Linked DNA regions of Homo sapiens: all the other regions are linked to region 1. The links are contacts of gene promoters, found by promoter capture Hi-C in blood cells and fetal thymus (Javierre and others, 2016). All regions are on one chromosome and are shown on one strand. The core of a region is centred on a gene start or on the middle of the fragment in contact, and the rest is flanking DNA. Distances in the headings are between cores, read along the strand shown. Region 1 holds the start of TNFSF18 (TNF superfamily member 18). Region 2 has its middle 110 kb from the start of FASLG. Region 3 has its middle 130 kb from the start of FASLG.

Region 1 (2,743 bases), core at 101-2,600:
ATATCAATAGGGGACTGCTTCCTCCTGCATCTTTTCTCAATTACTTTTACTTATCTTAAGTGGTAGAACTATATCTTTGAAATCTTTGCTGGTCAGTTCCCTTAAGAAAAGTGTTTCTGCAGTCACATTTCAACTCTTTCTCAGATGGACATATGCCACTTTATTCTCCCCAAAACTTAGAGTCTTCAAATTTAGCCAGAAATAGGCTAAATCCTGAAATAAATAAAGCATTTCTTATTTTCTTTTTGATCAGTGCTACGTAGTTAACTGTGAGGAAAGATTTTTTAGTAAAGAACAAAACTAATCTCCATTCCCAGTGTACCATCCCATTCTCTAGGCCCACAGCTTGGCCTGCATCTCAATGGGAAATTCCTGACAAGCATCAGGGGCTTCCCAAATAGATATGGGCTTTCTCATTCCTCCATGAAGTCTTCCCTGATCAACTCAATCTAAAGTCATTGTTCCCTGCTTTTGAGTGACTTAGGCATTTATTCTTCATACTACCCTTAAATAAATTCTTGATCATGACATTTTATAGCTAGAAGAAACATCATAATAAATCCATTCCCCTACCACCAGTTTTTTTAGATAAAGAAGCTGCAAACTAGAGAGATTAAATGTCTTTATCAAATTTATACAGCTGGTTATTAGGAGACCCAGAACCAGAATCCAGATCTTCTTACACCTAGCTCAGGGCCACTTCCCTCCTCAAAGACACACAAACCACCTGTCATTTACTTAATCCTGTCTTTCACTATTTTTTTAAGTCTTTTCCATAAATAAGACTATAGCTTGCATCCCATTCCTTGATATTCATTCATATTTTTACCTTTTTTATTCCACCAAGAGCTATAGCAGAGGGAAGGAAAAATACTCCACAGGCCCCTGTCAATTGGCTTAACCAGTTCTCTCTATCTAACAGAGTTCTGCAGCTAACATTTAGCATTTTCTGATACCTTTTATCTCAAAACCTTTAGATAAACTTCAAACGCCATGTCATGACAATATTAGAATTGTATTTACATTATGTATACACATCTCTTCCTTCCAACTATTGCTAACAATACTGAGTGACAATGATAACAACTAGAAAAACAAATAAATAGAGGATTATAGCAAATAGTAACCTTAGGTACAATTGCCTCCTTACCTCTAATTGGAGAAAAATAAAGATTAGCCAACTGAAGGAGCAAAGAAATAGCAACATAACTATTGAGCAAAAGAGCCACAGCTTCCAGGATGATCTCTGAGCTCCTTGAGTTCTTGAATGGCTTAAAGGCATATTTTCCAAGTGGCTCAAACACATTTTTGGAGAAATGAGAGCTGTGGAAAACAAAAATTCACAAGTGATGGGTGAAGGATGCAATGTCATGTTTTGTAGCAATATGGTAATTAGTAGTGGGTGTGGAAGGCGGAGTTTTCCTTCTGTCACTGTGTTAGAAAATGATACTTATAACTTAAGTGCTGACTCTCATTTGGCACCAGATCAAATACAACAAAAGGAACGGAAGGCTGAAAGCCAACACAAACTCAGAACATAAAAAAAAAAGCACAAGGGAAGTTCAGAGGGGAAAAAAATTTCTTTCCTAAATCAAACGGCAGTACAGTGCACGTGTAGAGGAGGCTTGGGAGAATAAAGTGGTGTGCTCTCATCTAAGAAAGTATTCCAGATTATTTCTAGATAAGAAAATCACTTTTTATAAGAAAAAATAAAGTTTGAGATTAATCCCCCTACCATACTCCAGATATCATGTACATGAGCGGCAGAGTGTTAGGAAGTTGGAGAGGCTAGGATCTCTAGTTTGGAAAAAATAGAGTTTTAATCAAGTCATCATCTTGTTTACCTTAAATACCCACAATTTTTATTTGTCAATTATACTTCAGTAAACCTGGAAAAATAAAATCTATACTCACAAAAATGTTTCATCAATTTCTAGTGTATAGAATGCGTTCATTCTGAGTCTCTAGAAAATATCAAGTGTATTACAAGAATTTAATAAAAAATTGTAAATACAACAAGCTCAATTTTATATTTCATCATTTTTAAACTCTGATAATCTAGTTCTGGCATAAGAAGTTATTTTACAGAAGGATATTTTCCTGCATCCTGCCCTCAGCCAGAGCTTATACTCTATTCCAAAAAAAAAAAAAAAAAAACCTTGGGTTTTCTTCCTGGGCCCAAAAATATGGGTTTACTACAAAATTGAGGAAGTCTCCTGGTTCTATGGACCTCAGTCACACAGGCTTTTAAATCAGACAGACCTCAAGAGCAGAGGCTGGCACTGCCCAGTTCCTACCTGCTCTGTGGCCTTAGGCATGTTACTTGAGTTCTCTGAGCTTCAGTTTCCTTCACTGTAAAATGGAGAAAATTTTCACTTTATAATGCTTTTGTGGAGAATGAAATGAAGGTGAAAAGTTTATGCATTCCATAAATGTTAGATTATCTCTTCTCTACCCTCTTTAGCGATGTAGTGAAGTTTAATTCAATTATTAAATCCTAGAAAAGAATGAACATTCTTTATCTTTCCCACAAGATAAAATTCACCTAAAGTTTACTTAAACAAAAGGAAGTACAATGAAAGTATTTTGGAAAACCTATTTTTTAATCTAAGAGAGAATTGACGATTTATAAATTAGAAAAAAGTCCAGAGATTTAACATCCTCCTTTACAAAAAAAGGAAACTAAGGACAAGAGGGTGTGAGTAGTGTCTCAAATCACTGCTGGCTGGTTAATGATGGAGTG
Region 2 (2,743 bases), core at 155-2,654, 280 kb before region 1:
GAATCACCTCCCACAAAACTGTCCATCTCTCAGTGGGTACTGTTCTGACCAGCTGGCCTATGTGGTTTGCATTGCTGCCATGTTGGGGGTTATTGATTAAAAATAAAATAAAATTAATCAAGATGAATTGCTTACTTCTCTCCCTTAGATTTCTTTTATTTTGATGCTCTTATTCCACTCCTCTATTATCTTTATACTATATCTCTCTTTAGTAAACCAGAATGAATTGCTCAAAAAATTTGTTATTCAAATATGAGACATCTTTTAGTTTACAAATTATTTTCTTGAATTGCAACACATTTTCTTTTGAAAATGCTGTGGTAACTAATGACCCCCAAATCCAAGTGGGATATACAGGTTTGTTTCTTGCTCAAGTTACATGTCCATCATTGACCAGTTGAGGCTCTGGTCAATGTCATCTTCATTGTGGGACCCAGGATGCTGGTGTGGCCTCTAACCGGGATGCTGCTGGGCTCATGGGAGAAGGAAGTAGGGCCTAGTGATCACATGCTGTCTCTTAAAGTTTCTTCTTGTAAGTGAAAAGAAGCTTTTGAAGCTCCCCCTCTTAAATTCCCCTAAGAATTCCTTCCAGGGTTTATTTGACCCAAAGAGAGATCAGTCCTTTTCTAATGCTAGGTATAGGGAGAACTGGGCTTTGAACAGTATGTTGCCCATCACCACTTGGGGTTGCTGCTGAAGACAAGTCAGGTATGTCCCTCCAGTGCTGCTTGTCCACTGAAGCAGCATGGCCCTGGGTTGTCCAGACACCTCCATTTCTGAAGTGGCTACACTCAGTCCGTATGGATATGGCTTTAGCAGAAAGCACTTTTGGTTAACATACACAGACACATCCAGAGGCACAAGCTCACCAATACTGAGGTCTGGTTGGATTCCAATAACTATTACTCAAAGAGCCAATATTCAATGTTCTTCCCTGTTAACCATTATCATCCAAGTGGCAACACAGCCTTTTTAAAGCTTCTCAAAATTCAACATGTTTTATATCTTTTTTCCTGTAAAAATACTACCTTACTATAGCAGATAAAATGTAACTGTTCATGGAACCATTTTATTTTCTTCCTGGTCACATAGGAAGATTTCATTTTCCAGTCCTCCTTTCAACTAGGTGGAATCTGTGATGAAATCTGCCTAGAGAATATGGGCCTTACCTTTCCTGGGCCTTGCTATAAAAACTTTTCTGTGAGATCTTCCATGAGCTCTTTAACTATGTGTTTGGAAATAAGGATTCCAAAATGGTTGCATTGCAAGTTGGGAACAGCATGAGCCTTAAATCACTACTTAGAGGGGAGCCATCAGAAGAGTGATTAACCTGCATTGGAGCTCGTCTACATGAGAAATTTTAATTTTGTGAGTTTCTGAGATTTGGGAATCTACCCGTTGTTGTGACAGAGCCTATGCTTCTTTAACCAATATAGGTATTACTCAAGGCATTTTGCCCTCCCTCGATAATGTCACTCAACTTATCTGCATAACCAAGAAGAGCCTTTTACATATATCCACTTGAACTGAAACAGTTTGCTTTAGGGGGCCTTGTTTAATGACTCCCAGTCATTAAAGAGGTTGGCAAGTTATAGGACTTATATCAGTCAGCTTGGCTAAGTTATGCTGTGGTAACTAATGACCCCCAAATCCAAGTGGGATATACAGGTTTATTTCCTGCTCAAGTTACATGTCCATCACTGACCGACTGAGGCTCTGGTCCATGCCTTGTTCACTGTGGGACCCAGGATGACGGCGTGGCCTCTAACTGTGGTGTTGCTGGGCTCATGGGAGAGGGAAATAGAGCCTAGTGATCACATGCTGTGTTTTAAAGCTTCTGCTCGTAAGTGAAAAAACATCACTTCTGCTTGCATGTAATGAACCAAAGCAAATCACATGGCTAAAGCTGATGTCATGGAGGATAATACATAATCCTCCTACAGGGAAGGACATCACAGAAAGGGGAACTGGAATATTTGGAAGAATAGTAATGCCATCTATCACAACCCTCAAAGGACACTCTTCTTACTTTATGTCTTGAAAGTCACCAATTATTTTTATTTGATTATTTATTTATTTATTTGTTTTTTGAGACAGGCTTGCTGTGTCACCCAGGTTGGAGAGGAGTAGCACAATCATGGCTCACTGTACCCCTAATCTCCTGGGCTCAAGTAATGCTCCTGCCTCAGACTCCCTAGTAACTAGGACATAAGTGTGTGCCACCACACCTAGCTAATTTTTAAAATTTCTACTAGAGAGGAGGTCTTACTATGTTGCTCAGGTTGGCGCTGAATTCCTGAGCTTAAGTGATCCTCCTGCTTCAGCCCCCTAAAGTTCTGGGATTACAGGCATGAGCCACTGCACCCAGCTTATCCTATTATTTTTAAAAGGTACAGATTAGGTTGCTGGTGAGACCTTGCTTAATTTAAATTCTTTGGAAATATATCCTTCCCTAGCACGGAGTCTGGAGATAGGCAAATATATTAATGGAAAGACAAGAGTGTTAAATAACCCCAAACTTAGTGCTCCTCAAATAACCTTGTGAAAAAGGGATACTCAGCCACTCTCTGCTCCTTTCTTAGTCAGATGCTCCTTACGTTAGCCTCATGATATAACTTTCTTGGGCTGTATTAGTTTTCTATTGATGCTGTACCAATTACCTCAAATTTAGCAGCAGAAAACAGCATCCATTTATTATCTCACAGTTCTGTAGCTCAGAGGTTCAGGCACAGCACCTGAAACT
Region 3 (2,743 bases), core at 83-2,582, 260 kb before region 1:
GTTCAGCACTAGGACTTGCCAAAGAATTGCAGTCCTTGTGGCCTAGACTGCCTTTCAAGAGCTCCAGGGCTGGTTTAAATGCTCCCCCCATGGGCAGGCATCAGCTGAGTTTGGTCTGGTTTTGTTTTCTGTTATAATAGGGCAGCACTGAGTTCAATGCCTCACAATTGCTGTGATCTCCCTCTCCCCAGAGCACAGAAATGTTGTCTGCACTTTGCCATTGCTGCTGGGGAATGGGGAAGGGGTAGTGTCCGCAATTCAAGACTGTTTTTCCTACGTCTTCAGCAATGTGAAGTTAAAACCAAGTACTGTGAATGCTCGCCTGATTTCTAGTTCTTATGAAGATGCTTTTTTTAATGTGTAGACAGTTGTTAAATTGGTGTTGTGCCATCTTGCTCTGCCACCTTGCCTATTTAATTTTTCCAAGAATCATTTTCTCCATGTGTAAGTTGGAATAATAGTAATATTTACCTCATAGTTGATCTTGAGGAATAAATTAGATTATATACACAAAATTCTTGATGCAGTGTCTGGCACATAGAAAATGAAACTTCTTTAATATATGCACACATACATACACATACCACACTTCATTGTCTCATCTTACATGGTTGACTCTTTCCTCCTTAATTAAAAAGAAAAGCTGAAAAAACCCTCATCTTTCCTAGGGAACAGAATGGTGACCCTCAACTGATTATTTATGCACTTGGGAAAATATTTTCTTCTCAACTCTCCCTTACCTTTTACCTTTCTATCCCCCACATCAGGAGCAGGAGAAGATCAGAGAAATCTGCTACAAAACCAAGGAGGTGAGGGAGAAGAGGACCAAATACTGACCTAGCACATGCTCACTCTTCTCACAGGTGACTGTGGTTATGACTGGCTAAATAATTTGTGAGATTCAATGAAAAATGAAAGTGCAGGGCACCCACTTAAAAAGTAATTGAGAATTTCAAGACAGAGATGGCAGAGCATTAAACCAAGCATGGTTTCGTTCTAAGCACGTGGACCTCTGTGACTGCACAGGCTATATGTTCATAACACTGGCCCTCCTGTCAGCCCTGGGGCAATGGAAGAAGGTGACAAGCTAAAGCTTCTGTTGTTAGTATGAAGCCAACTTGTCTGTTTTTTCCACCTCAGAGCCTAGTTAAGGCATGTGGGTTTATTACTTGGCTATTAGCAGCTCTCTGCCCCTGGAGCCTAGAACCTGGAAATATGAGGGGTCAGAGAGAGCCCCACTCTCACTTCTGAGAGGAATTAAAGAGAAATTGGGTTAAAACTATTCTAACCCAATCAATTTAATCAGTTTTTAGGAAACTCTCTTAGCTGTAGCAGGCAAGATCACTCACAGAGACAAAAATTACAGTAATGCTAGGCATTCGAGTCTCTCTTGCTCTCTCTGTGAGTGTATGAGTGTGTTTGTGTGTGTGTATGTGTGGTATAATGATGTAAATTTTTCACTTTCGTGGTCTATGTGTCAGTTACTTTCTTATGCTTAACTAAGTTTGTTAGATGCTATTCATGATACTCATGGGTGTTTGGAGGAAGATAAAATATGTACAAGGAATAAGGAAGCTTCAGAAGCTAACAATGCATATTAAAGACTTACTTGCTACTTTTATCCATTATATATGCTGCAAGGAAATTTGGCAATTAACTATAATTCTAACACATGGCCCAAACTGCCTATATATTCTTGTTTTACTGTCAGATTTGGGAGAGTGAGCCTGGGGACGCATCAGCAGAGATTTCTGGAGGAAATGTGGGGATAAATGGAGGAGGGAAGGAGGTTCAGAGGAAAGCTGCTAGATTCAAAGGTGGGTAGGGTGAGATGTAGAAGAGAGGTTTGGGGAGAAGATGAAAATGTAATGGGAGGCAGAGGACAGAGGAAAGAGGAAGAGAGAGCCCAGGAAGAAGAAAGTCTAGGCTGGAAGGCCCAGAAGTTAACCCATAGTAAGTTAACTTCTCAGGGAAGGAGGGCCATCCAGGTGCTTCTTAGATCTTTAGCAAGCCATTTTTCTGCATAGGTAGATAGGAAGCACTGAGGGGCCAGAGAGAGAACACTTCTCATTGCAGATCCCCTGGCTTGATCACTTCTTAACTCCAAAGCCTTGGGTGGGTCACCTCTCCTCTCTGTGATTCAGAGTACTCATATGCAAAGCAAGGAAGGCAAAGCAGAGGGCCTTCAAAATCCCAGGGTGAACCAGGCTGATATTTCTAGGAGAATCTGAATAAGTGAGATGGAGGAGAAAAGAGAGAGAGTGGAAGGAAGGCTCAGCCTGAATGTGGAAGGATGGAAAGGAGGAAGGTCATAGAATACAGAAGGACTGGTAGGGGGGCAGTTAAGTGTGGTCATTTTTGCCTATTATACTTCTCCTAATTTGTTTTTCAATAATAGATTTAGTAAGATATTAATATACCATAAAAATCTATCTTTTAAAGGTGTACAATTTGGTGGTTTTTAGTATTTTCACAGAGTTGCAGAGTTGTACAACCATCACAACTCTCTAATTCCAGAACACTTTCATCACCCAGAAAGGAAACCTTGTATCCATTAGGAATCACTCCCCATTCTCCCTGACCCTAGTCCCTGGAAATAACACATCTGTTCTCTGTCCCTATGGATTTGCCTATTCTGGACATTTCCTATAAATGGAATTATACACTATGTGTGTGTTTTTGTGAAAGGACTCTTAGCATTATGTTTTCAAGGTTCATCCATGTTGTAGCATGTCTTAGTACT

Evidence for each region. Contacts are between HindIII fragments. The CHiCAGO score rates a contact against its expected background, and 5 or more counts as called.
Region 2: a contact is called between a fragment that was not itself captured here and the fragment with the promoter of TNFSF18 in region 1, in 4 of 17 cell types (M1 macrophages, M0 macrophages, M2 macrophages and 1 more). The highest score is 9.6, in M1 macrophages.
Region 3: a contact is called between a fragment that was not itself captured here and the fragment with the promoter of TNFSF18 in region 1, in 4 of 17 cell types (naive B cells, activated CD4 T cells, monocytes and 1 more). The highest score is 6.5, in naive B cells.

What each region holds. Positions count from the first base shown.
Region 1 is chr1:173,049,591-173,052,333 of GRCh38, forward strand. It overlaps TNFSF18 (TNF superfamily member 18), which reads right to left and starts at 1,351. Exons shown (of 3, transcript NM_005092.4): 1 at 1,151-1,351. The coding sequence starts at 1,306. The HindIII fragment of the contact is 4,458 bases long and covers 1-2,743 here.
Region 2 is chr1:172,764,822-172,767,564 of GRCh38, forward strand. No RefSeq gene overlaps it. Among named protein-coding and RNA genes, the nearest start is that of FASLG, 110 kb to the left of the region's middle. The HindIII fragment of the contact is 856 bases long and covers 977-1,832 here.
Region 3 is chr1:172,789,027-172,791,769 of GRCh38, forward strand. No RefSeq gene overlaps it. Among named protein-coding and RNA genes, the nearest start is that of FASLG, 130 kb to the left of the region's middle. The HindIII fragment of the contact is 482 bases long and covers 1,092-1,573 here.